Regions from separate parts of the Homo sapiens genome. Here region 2 is linked to region 1. Evidence: promoter capture Hi-C in 16 types of primary human blood cells and fetal thymus (Javierre and others, 2016). All regions are on one chromosome and are shown on one strand. Each heading gives the region's core, a stretch centred on a gene start or on the middle of the fragment in contact. The rest is flanking DNA. Distances are from core to core; before and after follow the strand shown.

What was found. The method cuts DNA at HindIII sites, captures the fragments that hold promoters and counts their contacts. A CHiCAGO score of 5 or more calls a contact.
Region 2: a contact is called between the fragment with the promoter of LINC02478 here and the fragment with the promoter of PSMD14 in region 1, in 2 of 17 cell types (neutrophils and total B cells). The highest score is 12.3, in neutrophils.

Annotation. Positions count from the first base shown.
Region 1 is chr2:161,305,739-161,310,626 of GRCh38, forward strand. It overlaps PSMD14 (proteasome 26S subunit, non-ATPase 14), which reads left to right and starts at 2,687. Exons shown (of 12, transcript NM_005805.6): 1 at 2,687-2,866. RefSeq lists an enhancer at 2,555-3,014. The HindIII fragment of the contact is 7,205 bases long and covers 365-4,888 here.
Region 2 is chr2:160,268,874-160,273,761 of GRCh38, forward strand. It overlaps LINC02478 (long intergenic non-protein coding RNA 2478), which reads right to left and starts at 3,022. Exons shown (of 2, transcript NR_103775.1): 1 at 2,847-3,022. It overlaps RBMS1 (RNA binding motif single stranded interacting protein 1), which reads right to left. Exons shown (of 14, transcript NM_016836.4): 14 at 3,278-4,888. RefSeq lists an enhancer at 1,230-1,839. The HindIII fragment of the contact is 15,786 bases long and covers 1-4,888 here.

The DNA of each region.
Region 1 (4,888 bases), core at 1,437-3,936:
TTTTAAAAATTTAAAATTTGTCTCCGTCATGGCATATTATACTTTTTAACTCCAGAATTATTTGGGTTTTAAAAAATGATTTGTCTTTATCATCTATTTGATGAAACATCTCATACTTTCCTCTAGTTCTTTAGACATGGTTTCCTTTAGCTTTGTAACATATTGAAAATATCTGATTTAAAGCCTTTTTATCTAGTAAGTCCAGCATGTAGGCTTCCTCGGGTGAGTTTCTATTGATTAATTTTTATCCTGTGTATGAGCCATACATTCTTGTTTCTTTGCATGTATCTTAACTATTTTGAAAACTGAACATTTTAAATAATATAATGTGCAACACTGGAAATCAGATTCTACCCGCTCCCCAAGCTTCACTGTTATTTCTGTTTGTTGTAGCAGTTGTTGATTTAGTGACTTTTCTGAACTCATTCTTTTTTTTTTTTTTTAGAGATAGGGTCTGAGTTGGTGACTCAAGGGATCCTCTGGCCTTAGTTTACCGAGTAGCTGGGACTACACGTGTGCCACCGCACCTAGCTTATGAATGAATTCTTTAAAGTCTGCATTGTTTATTGTGTGTGACCACTCAGGTTTCTGCTCAGTTAGCTTAGTGGTCAACTAATGATTAGAGAGACAGGTTTTCTTAAACACCTTCAACCAAAAAATCTCCCAGTCTTTCCTGAGGGGTTTAGTACTTACGTTGGGACAAGCCTTCAACAATCAGCCAAGCACTTTACATTAGGTTGGTACCAAAGTAATTTCGTTGAAATGACAAAACCGCAATTTTTTGCACCAACCAACCAAATAATTCTGCCTTAGCCTTCACTTCTTGCTTCTGTAGTGCCTCAAGGTCACCCAGAGGTTAGAGCTCAGGGCCTTCTCAGGCCTATCTTGAGTGTTCACATAACCCTAGACATATGCACACCCTAAGCACCTTCTACAGTCTCAGGAATATGTTAGCGTTTTTCAAAGCCCTATGGACATCTTATTCCCCAGCTAAATACTTTAGTATGGCTGGAGCAAAAGGTGCTCCAAACAAAGTTTAAGGGTTTTTTTTTTTTTTGACCTTTATAATGAATGTTATGGGGAGCCACTAGTGGAATTTTAAATAAAGAAGGAGCATGACTACATATAGCACAAAAATTTTTACCAGTGAGGTGGAGAATGGATTAAAAGGAATCAGACCGAAGGCGGAAAGATCAAAGAGCATTCTAAAAAAGTAGCCTGGGGAACATGGTGAAATCCTGTCTCTACTAAAAAAATAAAATAAATAAAAACATAAATAAAAATTAACTGGGCATGGTGGCAAGCGCCTGTAGCCCTAGCTACCTAGGAGGCTGAAGTGGGAGGGTTGCCTGAGCCCGGGGACGGGATGTTGCAGTGAGCCCAGATGGCGCCACTGCACTCCAGCCTGCGTGACAAAGCAAGACCCTAACTCAAAAATGCATTAATAAATAAATACATATAAAATAAAATAAAATAAAAAAGAAGTGAGGAAGGTCTGAGTTAAGGCCAAAGTGGGGAGTATTTAGAAGGGGAAGTGGTGGATTGGAAAAGCTGTTATGGAGATTACACATTTCATGGTTTCTACAGTGGGGAGAGATGAAAAAGAGGCAAGTGTTCATACTCTTAAGTTTCTGATTAGGAAAATTATTTGGAGGACGGGGCTACTCACCCCCTCCTCCCATAAAAAATGAATAGAGAGGCATAGGTTTGGGGGGGAAGCATAAAGATGTGGATCCAAATATTACCTATGAGTAAAATAATCTTTGTGTTTTTAAAGGTATTAATATCTTAAAGCAATTGTGCTACTCAAATCACAGTTTGGATCCAGGCGCTGTAATCTTTCCTCACCCTCTGTCCAGTAGATTCATCACCATTCTCGATTTAGGAATGCTTTAAAGATGCTTGTTATTTGGAACATATTTGAGAAAGTGACAGGAACGTGGCAAACAAGCTGCCTTAAACAGAGACTGTACCTAGACCTAGAGTGTAATATCAACTTGTCAAGTATATCTTCTGCAACTTTGCTTTTTGAAAGCCTAGCACAAAGTAGATCATGAGTAAAATGTGATTGCCGATAATTACATGGAGAAATGTGAATAAATGACTCTTTAAACCCTGTAAACTAAACTCGGCTTAAAATAGGTGGTTTGAACATTTGGGAAACCTTAGTTTTCCCTGAAATCCAATCCTTGCAAAGCAATAATGACAAGAGGTGGATAAAGCGGACTTACAGAAAAGGGCGTCTTACCGGTCCCCTCTAATCACACCATCCCCCCTCTTTTAAAAAAATTTTCTTCTCAGATAACCAAGTTAAATCTAGCTCAAATGAACCTTTTAGTTTTTGAGGAGGGCAATAATAGTAGTGAACACCAAAACGAAAGGGGATCTGGGCTTCAAAATACTAACAGTTCTATTTCCTAGCCAGTCGTCTCCCGGGCTGGATGTGCCGCCGTCCCAGATCTCAGCGGCGGCCGCAGAGCGCAGAGGTAGGGAGAGAAAAAGGAGGCGTCGGCGGGGCGCGAGCGACCAGGGCGCTAAGTGCCGCCTCACAGTCCTGCCAGAGACAGGAGACGCCGGGCCGCCCGCGCCGTCTGTCCCAAGAGCTCCTCCTGGACATCCGCTTGACTCTCCGTCGTCTCCAATTGGCCGTCGGGGAACGGAAGCCGAAGCAAACTAGTGAACCCGGAAGTGCTTCGCGGCGGAGGCCCGGGCAACTCTTTTGAATGGAATCGGGCTGATTCATCGCCGGTTTGCAGACAGAGCCGCGTCGGGTGTGCGCCGCTGCTGCTGTTGCCTCTGTCTTCGCGTCACCACAGAGGCAAGACAAGGGTCCATATCGCGGCATCCGGCTCCCGCCCGTCTTCAGGTAAGACCCAGAAGGCAGGCCTGGGAGGTCTGGGGAGGCAGCCGTGCTAGGCCGCCGCCAGCCCCGTGCTTTCCTGAGTCACGTTGCCCAGCTGAGTTGCCACAGGAGGCCTGGGCCGCGAGGGAGGAGCCCGGCCTCCTTCATTCTCTTCGCCTGCTCTCAGGGCTCTCTGGCAGGGTCAGGTCTGGATGTCGCCTCCTTTCTCCATTCTTTTCTGTTTGGCCGAATTCACATCATGGGAACCTCTTCCATCTATATAGAGAGAATCCTTGTTTATGGCCTGTTTGTCTGTGCTCTATCCATAGTTGTTAACCGGTCTGCTTTGAAGTTTTTCAAAGCAGACCGGGAAAACAAGGGAGAGAGAGTAGAATTAACTTTCCCATTGAATACGTTTGTTTTATCTCTTGTCCTTCCTGTAAGCCTTAACCCTTTTTCTGTTAGTGTTAGGTTTTCAGCTCCCTCCAAAAAGTAAACAAAAGTCCTGCAGATACACTGCTTTTGGACCTTGAATATCTTAAAAACAAAGTGTGCTACTATGGCTGTTAACTTACTTTCAATATCATACTAATTGAGTAATTGTTGGTAAATTGATTACATTTCTCGTTTTAAGTAAAGTAGAAATCTGCTACCGTATGTTACATCTTGCAACTTAATTTTCCTGGGGATGTAGCTCTGTGTCTGTCAAAAGAAAAAGAATGTAAACTTTTGAGTCTATAAACCTAGTGACTGAAGGAAAAATTCTCGAGAAAATAAATGGTAATATAAGTTGATAAAATATTATGGAAAGGCAGGGGAAAGGGTTTAAAAATGAGCATAAAATAGAGTTATAGTGTGAAAGTGATTTTGTTCCACTGGTCACAAGTGTTTTTTTAGTGCTTCTGACTTAATGTGTTTGAGAAAAGCAGCAAGACATGCACTGATACTGTAGAAATAACAAAAACATGAACACAGTTTTAGTGGAGATGATTAATATAATGGTGGCCTTCCTGTCACGTAAGGCTACCTACCAGCTGACTCATTTGAAGTTTAGAGGTTAAGATATATAGTGGTTCTGAATTAACTACAGTTAAGGTGTGTTTAGTGAAGTGCTATTTAGTGAAAAAGGCTAAATGTTGTCTTGAATTTGTCCCTAAATCTTGCCAAGGGAAGAAAGTTTTCAAGTGATGATCTTTTATTGATGCTTCACCTGTTGACTTTGGGAGTTTTTGGTTTTTTGTTTTTTTTTCAGCCTAAAGTGCTTGGTAAATAATACATTGCCATTTTAATTTAGGCCGGGTGCGGTGGCTCACACCTGTAATCCCAGCACTTTGGGAGGCTGAGGTGGGCAGATCATGAGATGATCCAGCCTGGCCAAGACTAGCCTGGCTAACATAGTGAAAACCCGTCTCTACTAAAAGTATAAAAAAATCAGCCGGGCATGGTGGCACGTGCCTGTATTCCCAGCTACCTCAGGAGGCTGGAGGTGGAACCTGGGAGGTGGAGGTTGCAGTGAGCCAAGATCGCGCAACTGCACTCCAGCTTGGGCAACAGAGTGAGACTTTGTCTCAAAAAAAAGAGAAAAAGCTGAATTTTAATCTGTTTGACATGGGTTCATCTTATTTTCATACTGGCCATGTAAACCATGTGCTTGTTAATATATAGTTTGTGAACCATATGTATGAAAGTCAATAAATATTATTGCTGTTGTTATTGTTATTATCTTAGAAGTGGAAGAGATTAATCTAGTCCTCTTATTTCAGTAACAAGAAGCAACTGTGCTTTTTTAATTTTCAATTTTGTAGTAACGTTCATTTAATAATTCAGTGTCCACCTGTGAAAGCCTTGCCTGAATATCCATGTGATTTCTTGCTCAGGAACTTGTCATATTCCCTGTTTGTTGCAGTCATTTTGACATTTCGTATTCTGCTTTGTGTGTGATACTTTGGTGACCTTATTTGTGAAATGGGAGAACTTGATTAAATAATCTCTTCTAGTTCTAAAATGATAATAATAACAATTATAACAAGAATAGCAACGACAACA
Region 2 (4,888 bases), core at 1,772-4,271, 1.0 Mb before region 1:
CCTCCCAAGTGGCTAGGACTACAAGTGTGTGCCATCATGCCAGGCTAATTTTTAAAATTTTCTTGTAGAGATGACTCTTGCTATATTGCCCAGGCTGGTCTCAAACTCGTGGCCTCAATCAATCCCCTGGCCTTGGTTCCCAGTGTTGAGATTACAGGCATAAGCCACTGTGCCCAGCCTCTCCTTGGGTTTTATACTTATTTCATAGTTTTGATCATACTGTATCTACAGGTCTGTTCCTAACACTTTTTATTCACGTTATATCCTAAGCATTTTCCATGTCATTAAAATGTCCTCATTTTAAAATGACTTCATATTATCTTGCATGTCTTTAGCGTAACTACTGTCATTTAAAAAATAAAGCAACATAGGGATTTTCACTGGCTACAAGTTCTAAGAATTGTGGTATGTCTGAGAAGTCAAAAAGGAACCGGCAGGGCAGGGGAGACAGGTGAAGTCCCAAGTTCTTCCTCCGGTTTTGGGTTTTATCCTGAGTCAACTGTGGTACATCTGGAAGGTGAGTTGATGATGTGGAGTGACCAGGGCTGACGAGGAAGAGTTAAAGCTGGAAGGAATGCTCAACCCAGAGAAGAGCAGAGCCATGGAGTCACGTTTCCACACTTGAAGTATGACTGACTGACTCTGTGGCATCCCGGTTGGCAGCACTAAGGCCGGTAAGTGGGAATTTCAAAGCCACAATTTGGACTCCTCTGCAAACAAGTTTGAGAGCTGTTCCCTAAAGCTACCTGATGCCCTGTGAGGCAGGCAGTGCCTGGTCCCTGGAGGTGTTCAAGTAGGGCAGGTGGCTTCAAGGATACTAGAGGATAGGAAATCCCTGCAGTCTGGTTTATGGTCTGGGTCCTGTGTGAGCACTGGAATAGCCTACATCAAATCTTAAGTCTCTCAGAGTCGCATAAAACAACCGAATTCTTTAATTCAAAGCCACGTTTTCAATTCTGAGCAGCCCAGAGACCTGCCATCGCTTTCTCGCGCCGAGTCACGTGGTCTGGCAAGGCGCGCGGTTTCCTCCCTAGCCGCCCCCAGCTGCCCTGAACCTTCAAAGTCACATTTCAGTCACTCCCCAGTCTGACCAACAACGCTCACAATGAGGGCGCTGCCAGCACAGGCGACGGCCTGCGCTCCAGTCTTACGAGGAACCCCAAATTCAAGACCCCTGTGACCCAGGCCTGTGTGCCCCGACAGGCTAAACCTCCGCCCAGGGGCTTCCCGATGTCGGCTGCAGCGGGTCTGGGTTTTCGGCCTGCAGAGCTCGCGTCTGACGGCTGAGGAACAAAACACCCTCCCTCTAGCGGCTCAAGCGCACACACCCTCTTGCCTTCCGCAGCCACCGAGCGAGTCACGGGAGACACTCTGGAGCCATTTTGCGGGGCTGGAATTCCTTCGCCCGGCGGAGCTCGGCGCGCACCCGTCAGCTGTGCCGAGGACCCTGCGCCCGGGGGGCCCCGCGGCCACGTGACCCCCATCTGGCTCTCGGCCTGGACTGAGGGGGCTGAGCTCATCGCGTTGCTATTCGAGGGGCAGAGACTGCCTGGCCTTCCTCAAATCCTGAGCTCCCGGCTCTCCTCCCTCCCCCACCTACTTGACATCTCAGGCTTTTTGTGGAAGGGGCAGGGCGATTGAGAGGTCGGTGACCTTTGTCCCAATGGCGCTGGCTCTTTTCCTTTTTGGCTACCCTAATGGAATGAGGATATAATCAGTCATATCTTAACATTCATTGAGCCCCGGCTCAGGCTGGGAGGCACTGCCTTTCTCCTAGTGAATTTTAAATCAGTATTTGTGGGATTTAAGCTCCAGCGGATAAACCTAGAGCCACTGGCCATGAAGGGTGTGGCAGTGGGGTGAAAAACGGGACTCCCGCCTCCACTCCCTGGCTTTCCTCATTCCAGCCACTATAGAGGGGAAAATACGTAGACCACAGAGCAACGGCCACACCCTCTTTCCTCTCCTCCAACCCCAGAATTCCACTTCAGTCTCAGAGCTTTCAGCTAGGTGGGGTTTATCCCCAAACATGCCACAACCCCTCTAGTTATATGGGAGCGGTAACTGTGAACCACCATCGCTGGCTTGATCCTCCCTTTTCCGTGGATTGGTGCTCCTGAGTATGTTTACCGGTTTCAGTACATAACACAGCCAGATAGAGGGCCGCGGACTTCAGCGGCGAGAAGCTACAACAAAAATAGGGTGAACAAAAACGAAGGTGCCCAGGAGCCTGAATTGCATTTCTTTCTTACCTTTGGTCATAGAAAGGAGCACTTAGGTGTTTGGCTGGAACGCAAAGTGAGACCAGAGCTTACATTCTTAGCAGCCTGGGTTTGTCTCGAGAGGCCATGCTTCTCTCCTCCCTGACATTTTGCTCTCAGAAGCACCAGTTAGCATCAGAGGAATGTTGTTTCCTTCTCTGAAACAGCCATCAAGTACCAGCGATTTCTTGGCTCCGGCAAGTTAAGTGCTCTGACCCCTCCCTTATCTAACTCACCCCGCACACCATCCACATGGCAGGGGACGCAGCCAGAAATGGAGCGGACTGCATCTTTTCCTTGCCCACTCTTTTTATCACCATGACAGAGCCACTGGACACCAGGAAATAAATACTGAACCACCACACTAAAACGTTTACTCCACTTTGGGCAGAAGGAGCCTATTTTGCATATTAAGTGCCTCCTATAAAGCAGTCAAGTGAGGGAAAGAGGAGTTCTCGCTCCTCCGTGAATGCTGCACGGGAGCCTCCAGTCGGGAACAGCTGAACAGGTAGCTCTGAAAGAGGACCTTGGTCATAAACGCATAGATAAGATTATCCCGAGGTTCTCGCCCACATGCTTCCTTACCACAGGTGGGAGGGCTGCTGTTAGGCTGTCTTCCTTGCTGAGCATTGACAAGCAATGAAATAGTTGAGGCGTAGCAGCAAGAAAGGAGGAAGAAAAAGGGCCTGGTTTTTTGGTCTTTAAGAACAGACCACTAGTGGTGTATTTTGGGCTGGATATTTGCTGAGCCGACCGTTGACGTGCTGAGCTGACGGTTGACGTGCTGAGCTGAGGGTTGACGTCTCTGGTCATTACACAGATTTAAATAACCAGCAAAAGTGGGGTGGAAAGGTTTTTCCAATTGTTTTCAAGGAAATGTATTTTGAGGATATATTGAATCTGACATAACTTTCAACTCACTTTCAAACCAATCTACTGAGCTGAAGAAAGAGATCAGAAATGAAATGAAATTCTGATATACACTTAATCGACTTAAAAAAAATTGACAGGAAAAATAAAATTTCAGATGTTTTTTATTCAAAGGTTCTCAAAAGAAATAAAACAGAAAAGCTAACAATCTGATCAAATGTACAGTTCAAAAATGTCTTTTGGCGTTTAACAACAAGTCCTAGGAAAGAAAACTACAGAGTTATCTTGAACCGGACAAATAAGTTACCACTGGCAAGTCTGTGGCACTAGTAAAACAAAAATAAAAAATTAACTCTCTTGATCATATAGATATCTCTATGAAAATCTTTTTTTTTCAATCTGTACAAAAGGTCTTTCTTCATAAATTAATTTTTTTATAATTTAATGGCTGTCTACTATGTGATGTTTAACTGATTTTTTTTTTTTTATGTACAGAGGTTATGTTTCCCAAATCTTACCCAGACGAGTATGGCACTTAGTTCAGACATTTCTAGCAGCAGATTTCCCCTCCCCTCTAACCGAGCTATCAAATTTCTGTCTTAACTAATGCAAAAATATCAAGTAGTGAGAGACCCAGGTTTATAACTGTACTAGGTACACAGAGGGTGCTGCGTTCAGTCTGGACTTTCACAAAGCAGTAATATTCCAGGGAGCATAGAACCAATAATACCACAACTTTAAAAAAATGAAACAAAAACAAAAACAAAAACACATTTCTCTTATGACTATGTAATTTTCACTAGAATCTACACTTCTCAGAGCAGCAAGGACTTTTGAAACTATGAAATGTCACTGACATCTATCATCAAATACAAGCATAAAATTTAAGAACTAAAAAATACTTGAAAGAAATAACTGCTTAGCCCTAGCTCCTGAGCTAGGAGGATTTGGTCTGTGGAAACAGGGAGGGCCAGCAACCTGTCCCAGCACAAAAGAAAATAGACTCTGAGGTAGATAACTGATCATACACAGCTGACCAGACAAGTACACAGTTTTGGAAGACAACTTAATTTACCATTGCTTTTAAAACATATGCAATTGCCTTAATAAAAGAGCTTTAATAACAGTGAATTATCTTATATGTACTAAAGTAGAAATAACTGTGTATTTATGAATCAGGAATTTCATAGTTTCAAAATTGGTTTTCTTTACACTTGAACACTTGTAGTGATGATGTAAAGTGTGGCACTGCTTGGATCCAAATCTTCCTTCATGCTTTTTTGTTTGTGTGTGTCCATACATCAATTAAAATTATAAAACCTAAATGCAAAGGTACAAAAAAGGCACATTCTCCTAACCGCAAACTGGTCCGGCAAAAATAAAGAGCACAGAAGATGTGATGCTGAGACAAGTTGGAGCTACTGGTTACTGGCTCTTCGGTCTTTGGTGAAGTTACCTTTAAAAGTGCCAAGTCATTTTTATTTTTCAAATTTACCTAATAGAGAGAGAGAGAGAGAGCTAGTAGCCAATCGTTTTGCTTCTATTCGTTATCTCAGCTTATGTTTGAAGATAAATCCTTACTTTTAGCTTTTGCCACTTTGTTGCAATAGCAACATTTTTCGGTTTGCCAGATTTCAGGCATAATTCTCATTCTAAAGCACTATCATTAGTATAAAGGAAGGACAAAACATTCAGTGACTCCCCTCCCCCACCCCCATCCCCAACCCCAACACTACCTACACTAAATCTAGTACATC